Regions from separate parts of the Homo sapiens genome. Here region 1 is linked to region 2. Evidence: promoter capture Hi-C in human tissues and cell types (Jung and others, 2019). All regions are on one chromosome and are shown on one strand. Each heading gives the region's core, a stretch centred on a gene start or on the middle of the fragment in contact. The rest is flanking DNA. Distances are from core to core; before and after follow the strand shown. Region 1 overlaps LOC101928107 (a long non-coding RNA gene). Region 2 holds the start of EVA1C (eva-1 homolog C).

The links. The method cuts DNA at HindIII sites, captures the fragments that hold promoters and counts their contacts. A contact is called where the count stands out against the background at its distance.
Region 1: a fragment that was not itself captured here is called in contact with the fragment with the promoter of EVA1C in region 2 in 1 of the 25 tissues and cell types used here (lymphoblastoid cells).

Annotation. Positions count from the first base shown.
Region 1 is chr21:33,110,487-33,114,745 of GRCh38, reverse strand. It overlaps LOC101928107 (a long non-coding RNA gene), which reads left to right. Exons shown (of 3, transcript NR_109961.1): 2 at 123-360; 3 at 2,017-3,042. Among named protein-coding and RNA genes, the nearest start is that of OLIG1, 42 kb to the right of the region's middle. The HindIII fragment of the contact is 4,232 bases long and covers 1-4,037 here.
Region 2 is chr21:32,410,966-32,415,108 of GRCh38, reverse strand. It overlaps EVA1C (eva-1 homolog C), which reads right to left and starts at 2,403. Exons shown (of 8, transcript NM_058187.5): 1 at 2,096-2,403. The coding sequence starts at 2,255. The HindIII fragment of the contact is 9,144 bases long and covers 1-4,143 here.

The sequences.
Region 1 (4,259 bases), core at 672-3,171, 700 kb before region 2:
TGCCATTCATGCAACTAACATCAGTCAAATAATTGCCTACTGTTTCTTGTATATTAAGAGAAGTGAAAAATCATGGTGAAGTCTCTTGAAATGTTTGACCCTGCAGTCTTTTCTCTCTCTAGAAGGAAGAGGCTGATCTTTGGGCTTTCCAAAAGCTGCAGTTCTGGGACCTGGGGGAAAATTGGAGTGCCTGGCTTCCAAACAGGCATAATGGCTCTCTGCAAGACCAAGTATGTACAAACATCCCTTGAGCAGCCCTGCAAGCCTGATGCTTCACCAATGGGCACCCGGGCTTCATAACTGCTGAAAATCATGGTGTTGATTATCAGCACAGTGACGGTGCCAGGTGCTGCGGAATCAGTGAGTTTTCTAATTATTGCTTTATTGCCAAGGGAGAAAGGGGCAGCTTAAACTCAGAAATGTATGTATTAGGTGCCTGTTAAGTACCCACAATGAGCATCTGCTGTTATGGATAAACTGAGGCACAGTGGCATCAATAGAAACAACTCAGGGCATACAGTAGACCAAGGCCATTCATTGTTAGCACTAGGATCCCAAAGCCCAGGTGCCAGTGCCTCCACCTGCCTCCGGTTAAATATATCACACAGTACGTGCAATGAGAAAAACTCTTGCTGGGACCAAATATCCACAGAAAATCGGGGGGATCTGCATATCAATGATAAAGGTGATTTGAATTAGAAATATAGGAGGCTTCAAAAAGGGACAGAGACGTGATGGAGGAGGCCTCCAATCAGGCCCTCAGTTCCTTTGAGAATCCATGAGACTGATACTGTGTGTGGTTGTCATAATATCACCAAGGAACGAAAGCGGGAATTTCATCAATGGAGATTTTAGACATTTTCCTAACCCCAATGTCTGGCATAAGGGTGATTAGATCCCACTCCTCTGTTCAGAAGGCCAGTGCAATTTCTATGGGTATGGTACCAGTTTTGTTTTACTGATTGGAAAGAGAGTTTGATCATACTAGCAGTAATTCATAATGTATGGGCATCTCTTATGCAAATGAGCCCACTCTTTGCCTTAAAAAAAAAAAAAAAGTCCGGAAAGAAATAAAATGCTACATAAATGGGACCGCTTCGTTTCTCTCCTGCTTGTTCTTTCCCTCTTTCTCTCTCTCTCTCTTTTAAAAAGTAAACCGAAGGTAGTTGTATTTAAGCAGCTTTAATGTCCTTTCAGGGCTGCGCACAGGGTTGTGGTCACTCAGGCAGCAGTAACTTTGAAAAAATGACCCGTCTACACCCAAACAATAACAGAATCCCCCTTTTTATGTTGGAAACGCCCACGGCTTTCTGTGCATCTCCAGACTCCCCACGTAGATGCAACTGTTTGACCAGCCTTCTACTGAACAACTTAATTAAGCAAAAGAAAACGTGTCAGTTTCTGCCAACCTCACAAAAACAGAGCTGTGGGGGTAAAAAGGGTCGGCGAATTAACCCACATTCCTGAACGGGTTCACTAAAGCGAGGCCTGGCTTTGCAGCAATGCCAAGGGGAACCGTGCGCTGGGTTGCCATTCAGATTTATCAAGACATATTGTTCTGTAGATCATACTGAACACAATTAAAGCTGCAGTACCTCGGGGGGCTACAGCTCGGGTGTGAGCTTAGCTTAACTTAAAAAAAAAAAATCTTGTCACGACACGGTGCCTACCATTGACATTCTGCACAGTTACAAAGACAAAACAGTTCTATCCGACCATATGAAAACAGCAAGTTGTTTTTAGTTTTTTCCCCTCTTTAGTGTCCCTGCCCTCCCTCTTCCCCCGTTTTCCCTCTCCATGAAAGCACATGCAATATGCAAAGCAACTGTATACTCTGCATGCAATTTGTACTAGCCAGACCCAACCCGAATTTAATCCTTTTTTTTTTTCTTTTTGTCCTGAGGGCGGGGAAGTGTCCCAGCCTAAATCCTTCTCTGGAAGCTGGGAAAGCAGAGGCCCCAGGAATCCTGTTTCCTAGCCAATTAAATTTAGTTTTCTTTTTTTCTTTTTTTTCAGGCTTGGATTTTGATTTTGCTTCCTTTATGTGAAGCCAGGAGAGAGCTTAGCGCCCAGTACTCCGTGCCCCACCCCCACCACATCGCAGCCTCCCACAGTCACCAGGAAAAGTGGGGGCTTTCAGCGGCAGCCAGAAGGAATTCAGAAACATCACATTTCATTTCGGGAAGAATTGGATCAGCACCAGTTTGGTGTTGAGGCCATGAGATTGTGGCATTTTTATCCCAAATTTATCCTCCCTTGGTCTCTCTCAGTGTGTGTGTCTGTAGGAAGTCATCGTGTAGCATTATGCTATGAAGAAAGCATCCCACACTTATTCAATTGCATCGTCCCACATTCTGGATCGGGAGACACAGACTCAAGTCAACCTGCAGCTGCCTAATTTTGCAGGGAAGCAGCCATCCTGATGTTTGCAGGTTGGAGGCCTCCAAGTGACACACATCAGGAAGAAATGGGCTCTCCAATCCCAGATGAGCTGAAACACAAACGTTTTCTGAGGGAACAGTCAGGAGTCCTATCTTTCTGAGCCCTTTTCGATGCAAGCAACCATTGATGAAGAAGCATTTATGCTTGATACCTATGGCAGGTGTTCTTCGGTGTGGAGATGTTGTCAATGAAAGATTCAAAAGTGGTTCAATTATCAGAAGACCCTATTTGTTTGCTTTTGCCCAGCTTTTGTTTGCTCTGTCACTCAGGGAGAATATAAACAACTTTGGCGAGGTAAGATGGAAAAACAGCCGGTACGGAAATGTTCGATGGACAAATGAGAGGACTTGGCAGAAGTTTGGCTTAGAAGATGAATGATAGAGCCCCGGACAGAATGCAATAGTGGCAATAGGCATGCATTCTTTGCAGATGTGCACCGAAGGCTACAGGCTACTGTGTCTTTTTCTTCTGGCTTCTCTCTTGAGCTTCTGACACTGCACAGAAAGTGGGTCGGTCCTCTGACAGGCTTGAAAAATGCAAAAGTTTACCACCAACTGGTGGGAATACATGCAACACATGCATAAAACAGAGCATCAGTGGTGAAATGCAGCCTGCAGTTTCTCTCCGACAGTTATCCAGATAGTTCATCTCAAAATAATGATTTTGCCATAAACATACAGATATTGCAGGCAAAAGCCATCACAATTCAAAAGCCGTAACAAGAATGGCTTATTCTTTTAAGGGTTCCTTGTTAACTACAGAAAATGATCCACATGTCCCATTGAGGTGCTCTAAGATCTGGGACTGGCTTCTACGTTTATCTTTTTTGCCGAACAATTCAGGCTCCAGAGGGGATTTTTCTTTTTGGTCTGAAGGGTGAAGCTTGTCTGGTCGGCAGCTTTTGCAAACTACAGCCGCTCAGTTGAGCTCATTCCTCTGAGGTCTCTGTGCTGCCCCAAAATGGCTCTTCTGGGCCTGATGGAAAACCTGAGCCAAGCGCTTTAAGTAGACACAATGCCCCAGAGAGACATCCGATCCTCAGGCGGGTGCACCAGCCACCTGGGCCCCTTACTCTGCCTGTGGTCCCACTCCTGGCCTTTGCTCTGGGATTCCTGCTCTCTGGGATGCCTGGACTTGTCTCCCTCTGTCCCCGGGATAGGAAGCGTCGTCTTTGCCGAGGGCCCAGGGCTGCTCTTTGTGTTTTCAGGGGTTCGAGTCTCCTCTCTACTGCTTCCCTGTAGTATGATCTTAGGCAAATTATTTAACCCCCCGTACCTCAGTTTACCCACCTGTAAAAATGGGCTAATAGTATCCAACCTCAGGGAGCTGTTGGGAGGCTTAAGTGGGTTAATTTATGCAAAGGACTTAGAACCCTGCCTGGTGCATAGTAACAATTATTATCTCCCCTGTTAGTCTTTAAACTCCTTCAAGCCTCCAGCATTGCTTTATTTATTGCAGCAAAAGTTCCAGGGGTAAATAATCCCCAGACTGTCTCCCCTCTGTTGGGCACGGCAGAGGGCAGGTGTAGACTTGGCTTGCAAACCTTCCTTCTATTGATGTGGGCTCAATACCCTTGGCTTTCCAACCAAGTCAGAGTGCCAGTCCCTGGAAAGATTTCCCATGACAAATGGCAGCAGGACAAAGGCTGAATTCGATAAGACCCTTCTTTCACCTTGTTAGTACTGCAGGGAGAGGGAGGAGGGGCAAAGACCAGAGGCCGTTAGAGCCCAGGGGGACTTAGAGCTGCCTCACGCCCACCGACCCTCCAATTCCCTCACTCCGCGGCGGGAAATGGGGCTCAGAGACATACAGTGACT
Region 2 (4,143 bases), core at 1,154-3,653:
CGTCAGCTGAAACACTGAACCGAACAATAAGATGGTCATCTTTGGAGCTTAGGAATTTGCAGAGGGAGGGCGGCTAAAATCCAAGTCAAATGAGCCAACTTTGGAAGATGATCTTTCTTTCTCCCTGAGATTTTTCTAATATTTCCCTGACCTCACATGATATAGAATTAAGGTTTAAATTTAAGTGCATCAGTGGTTTGGGAGGACATTATATTTCCTTTCTTCTCCCCAAAAGGCTTCTGACATGTTCTGCCTAATCTTCAGATCTCTGGAGAGCATCACTGATGAGAGGAAAAATGGGGGCTCGTTGTGGGTGGCAATATCACCACCTACTGCTGGCTCAGGGAGTTTGAAACCCTGGAATTTAGGTTCGTATGGAAAGCAGAAGAAAATGCCTTTTATCATTTATACTATTTAGAATAACATGTATCAAATCATTCATTTTACTAAGGAGTTGATAGCTCAACTCCACTGTATGTAACAGTTGCTAGATACAGACAATTCCAAACTTGGGTGGTAATCTATAGACTGTTACAAGTATTGCAACTGCTTCCCTAAAGCAACAGAACTCTAAGTGTCTATAATCTGTGAAAACAATCTAATGGTTACACTGCAATTTGCCTAAAGCAATATTTGTTCAGTTGCAATGATGTCACAAACACAAAAAGGCTTGTCAGTTTTCAATTATTTCCTTAGAATTCAGAGCTAGATGGTGGCTGAACTCAGAACTGCTTTCCATAGCTCAAATCAGCTAATACAGAGCTTTTCTAGCAGCCAAGAAAGTTCTAGTAGTACAAAAAAAAAAGTTAATAGCCCTTGAAAAGTCTGATGCATTTCCCCACAACTCTTACCACAGAGTTCTGATCCTGGGATGCTTGATTTTAAGGGCCGTGGGTGGCTTGCCAAATAGGCCTTATCTTGGCTTCCTTTGCTAGGTAGGAATACTGCCTTGATATTACATATTCAAAGCAAAGAACCTCTGACCTAAGGGCTCTCCACTAACAATGACATTCTCTGTAAGTAAACTAGAACCCCATCTCAACTTCTGGTTTGCCCTTGTTCTTTGCTATGTACTAGCCTACTGCACAAACAGGACTGAGGAGGACTCCCTTTACCACCATTATGTTGCAAAAGACTCTGCACTGAGGACCCGATAGGGACCGACTGTGCAAAGCCTGAACTTGGCAGAAGATCCCTGGAGAAGGAGGAGTATGGGGCTCAGAGCTGCTCCCTAAGCTGGGCTGGGGAAGGCTGAAGGCCTCCAGCCTTGCCAGAGGGAGATCCAGGTGTGCTTCAGCGGCAAGGACATGTGTTACCTTAAGCAACTGCAGCGCTAACTTAAGCATGTGCTCCTATGGCTATCGTCAACCTAGAAATCCCTTTCACTTTGGGGCGTCACACCTGTAAGCTCAGAACTATCTGAGATCCGCTGCGAGAGCCTGGATCACGATTCCCAAAAAGAAAAGCCTCCTAGTTTATTCGAGAGTAGGAAGTCATTATTTTCTGTGAAGGAAACTGGAATTGGAGAGGGAGGACCCTGGTACACTTTGGCAGAGAGGCTCCTCTCTCTTATCTAAGTATCTCCTCATCCCTCACTGCCTTTCCACCAGACCTCCAGTCCCCGCGGGCTTCCCTTTCTACCTGCCAATGTGGACTCGAGGTCAAGTGTCCCCTGGGCTAGTCTCCTTACATGGGCAAACGGGCTACGCGGGTGACAAACGCGGCGCAACGCCTCCGACCACAACACGTGTATTTTACAGCGCTGGGCGCGGCACAGGGCTCAGTTTAAGGAGCCTCCATAGAACGAGCGTGGCTCAGGACCAGGTCCCTAATGCTAGGAAATTGACGAGGTCAACAGCAGGGCGAGAAACTCTGAATACATTACACACCCTTCCTTCTTGGGAGTGGCAGTCCCCCGTCGCCACTTCACTCGCAGCCATCTATATGCCAAGGGCTCACACCAGACAAGTGTCTGTGAGCACGCCTCAACTTTAATCCTACCCCGCCGTGTCCACTGGTGCGGCTGCCCCCAGTCGAGGGTTCACCTGGGCGCTCCGCGGTGCCGGGGGCACACAGCCAGGGAGGGCGCTCTTACCAGAGAAGTCGGTGAGCGCTGAGATCTCTTTGGAGCAGACCAGGACAGTGCAGTAGAAGAGGCGCAGGAGCTGCCCCGGCGGCTCTACCTGCCGGCGGAGGCCGGGATGCTGCACGGGCTGGGGCGTCGGCGGTTGGCGTGCGCGTCCCGGCAGAAGCATCGTGCGCTGCGCGGCGGGGCGGAGGCGCAGGCCCGGGACGCGCTGGGGGTCGCAGGGCTAAGGACGGCGTCACATGGCGGGGAGAATCGATGGCCAGCGGCTCCGCGGCCCCCCGCCGCCTCCCTGCCCAGGCTGCCAGAGCCTCCTCCCCTGCGCGGGCCAGCCCAGGCGCCCCAGCAAAGGGGAGGGGGCGGAGAACTGGGGCGGGGCGAGGATCCCCGAAAAGGATCCGCGTAGTTTCCCCGAGAGGAAATCTCCGTTGCCGCCGTGCCGGAGGAAGCGAGGGGGGCCGTAGGGAAAGCGCAGCCTTCGCGCGCCCCGCGGCTGCCCAGGCCGATCCCTGGCGCGCTGCCCACCGCGGAGGGCGCCCCCAGTAGCGCGCCCCGGGCCGCGCACCTTGAGCGCCTTCCACACCCGGGAAACAGCCGGGCACCCGTGGCCCTGCCCGCGCTGGCCGGGTGCCAGCCTCGCCCTGGCGGCAGAAGGAGCGCGGCCGGTGCCCGTGACGCACTTTGGAGCCAGCGCCGCGCGTGCAGCTGGGGCGCCCCCGGGGCGGGGCCGATCGGGGGCCGCAGGAAGGTGGGGTCCTGGAGGCGTGGGATCGCACCGCTGCCATCCCCGCCACCCGCCGCGCGCCACGTGCAGTCACCCGGCACATACAGTTATCGCCATTCCACAGAAGAGGAGACTGAGCCCCGGCGCCGTGCCCAAGCTCTCGCAGCCAGGACGGCGACGAGCTGGAGGTCTCAAAACCGGTCAGATGGCTCCGGAGCCGGGATCTTTAGCTCCAGCTCGGCTTCCTTTGGGTGCTGGTTGTCCGCAGCGCTGGGGGATCTGACACTGCACCGGCGCAAACAGCCGCCGAGCGCTAATAATTGGGCTTTGTTTTAAAGTGGGCCACAGCATCTTTCTGAACCTCTAGACTGTGCGCGGGGTGACCCACGTTCGGACGCCCAGCCAGTGGCCTAGGAGTGGCCTGCGTAGCCCCAACTCAAGGGTATCGAGGACAAGTGCGCGAGGGGCTCCGTGGCTGCTTGCCGGGTGCGGGTACCTGGCGCCCAGCGACCCAAACCCTATGGATCGCGCGGGGCCGGCGGAAGGGAGGAGGGCGGGCGCTAGGCACACAGTGTTCCCGAACCCGGCGGGAGGGCCTGCCAAGTTCGCGGCGGGCGTGACGCGGAAACGTAGATAATGAGGCCCAGGGCGGGGCCGGACGCACTGCCCCGCGGGCTCCAGAGCTGCGAACGCCCCAGAGTGTGCAGGGAGGCCTGCAGAAAGAAAATGCGGCTGAGGGTCCCCGTGGGACCCACTCAGAGGTGGGCCGTAAAGATCCCGGAAGGGTGGATGGCATTAGATACCACCTAGTACTCCAGCAAGGGCTGGGTCACCGAATTGGGATCTCGGCCTCTTCTTCCAGTCTGGGGAAAAGTGTGTTAAATGCTAAACATCAGTGTTTATCGAGTGAGGCCCAGCCTGTCTGGCATAATGATTTTTAAAATCTACATTCAAATATTAAATAAAAACTCAACCTCCCCAATAACATTTGAACATAAATATTAGTGTGCGCTCTCTAGGTTAGGGAAACTGAAGCTGGGAGTGTGGGTAAGGATGCCCAGCACTTAGGAGCCACAGGGTAAGTAATGTTTGTCCAAAACTCGGGTCCCTCCTGTACTTTCCATTCTGTCTGTTCATTCATCCAGTTTAGATATGAATTGGTACCAACGTGTGCCAGGTTCTGCGCTAGTGACTGACAGTGTTGGCACAGGGAGGCAGCCATGCTCCCGAGTCCTGGGAGTGGGCAGCACTGCCCTGTGGGTCTGCACTGGCTTCCAAATGTCTAAGTGGGCACTGTTACTCACTGTGACAGCATCCCCAGGCTTTCTTACCT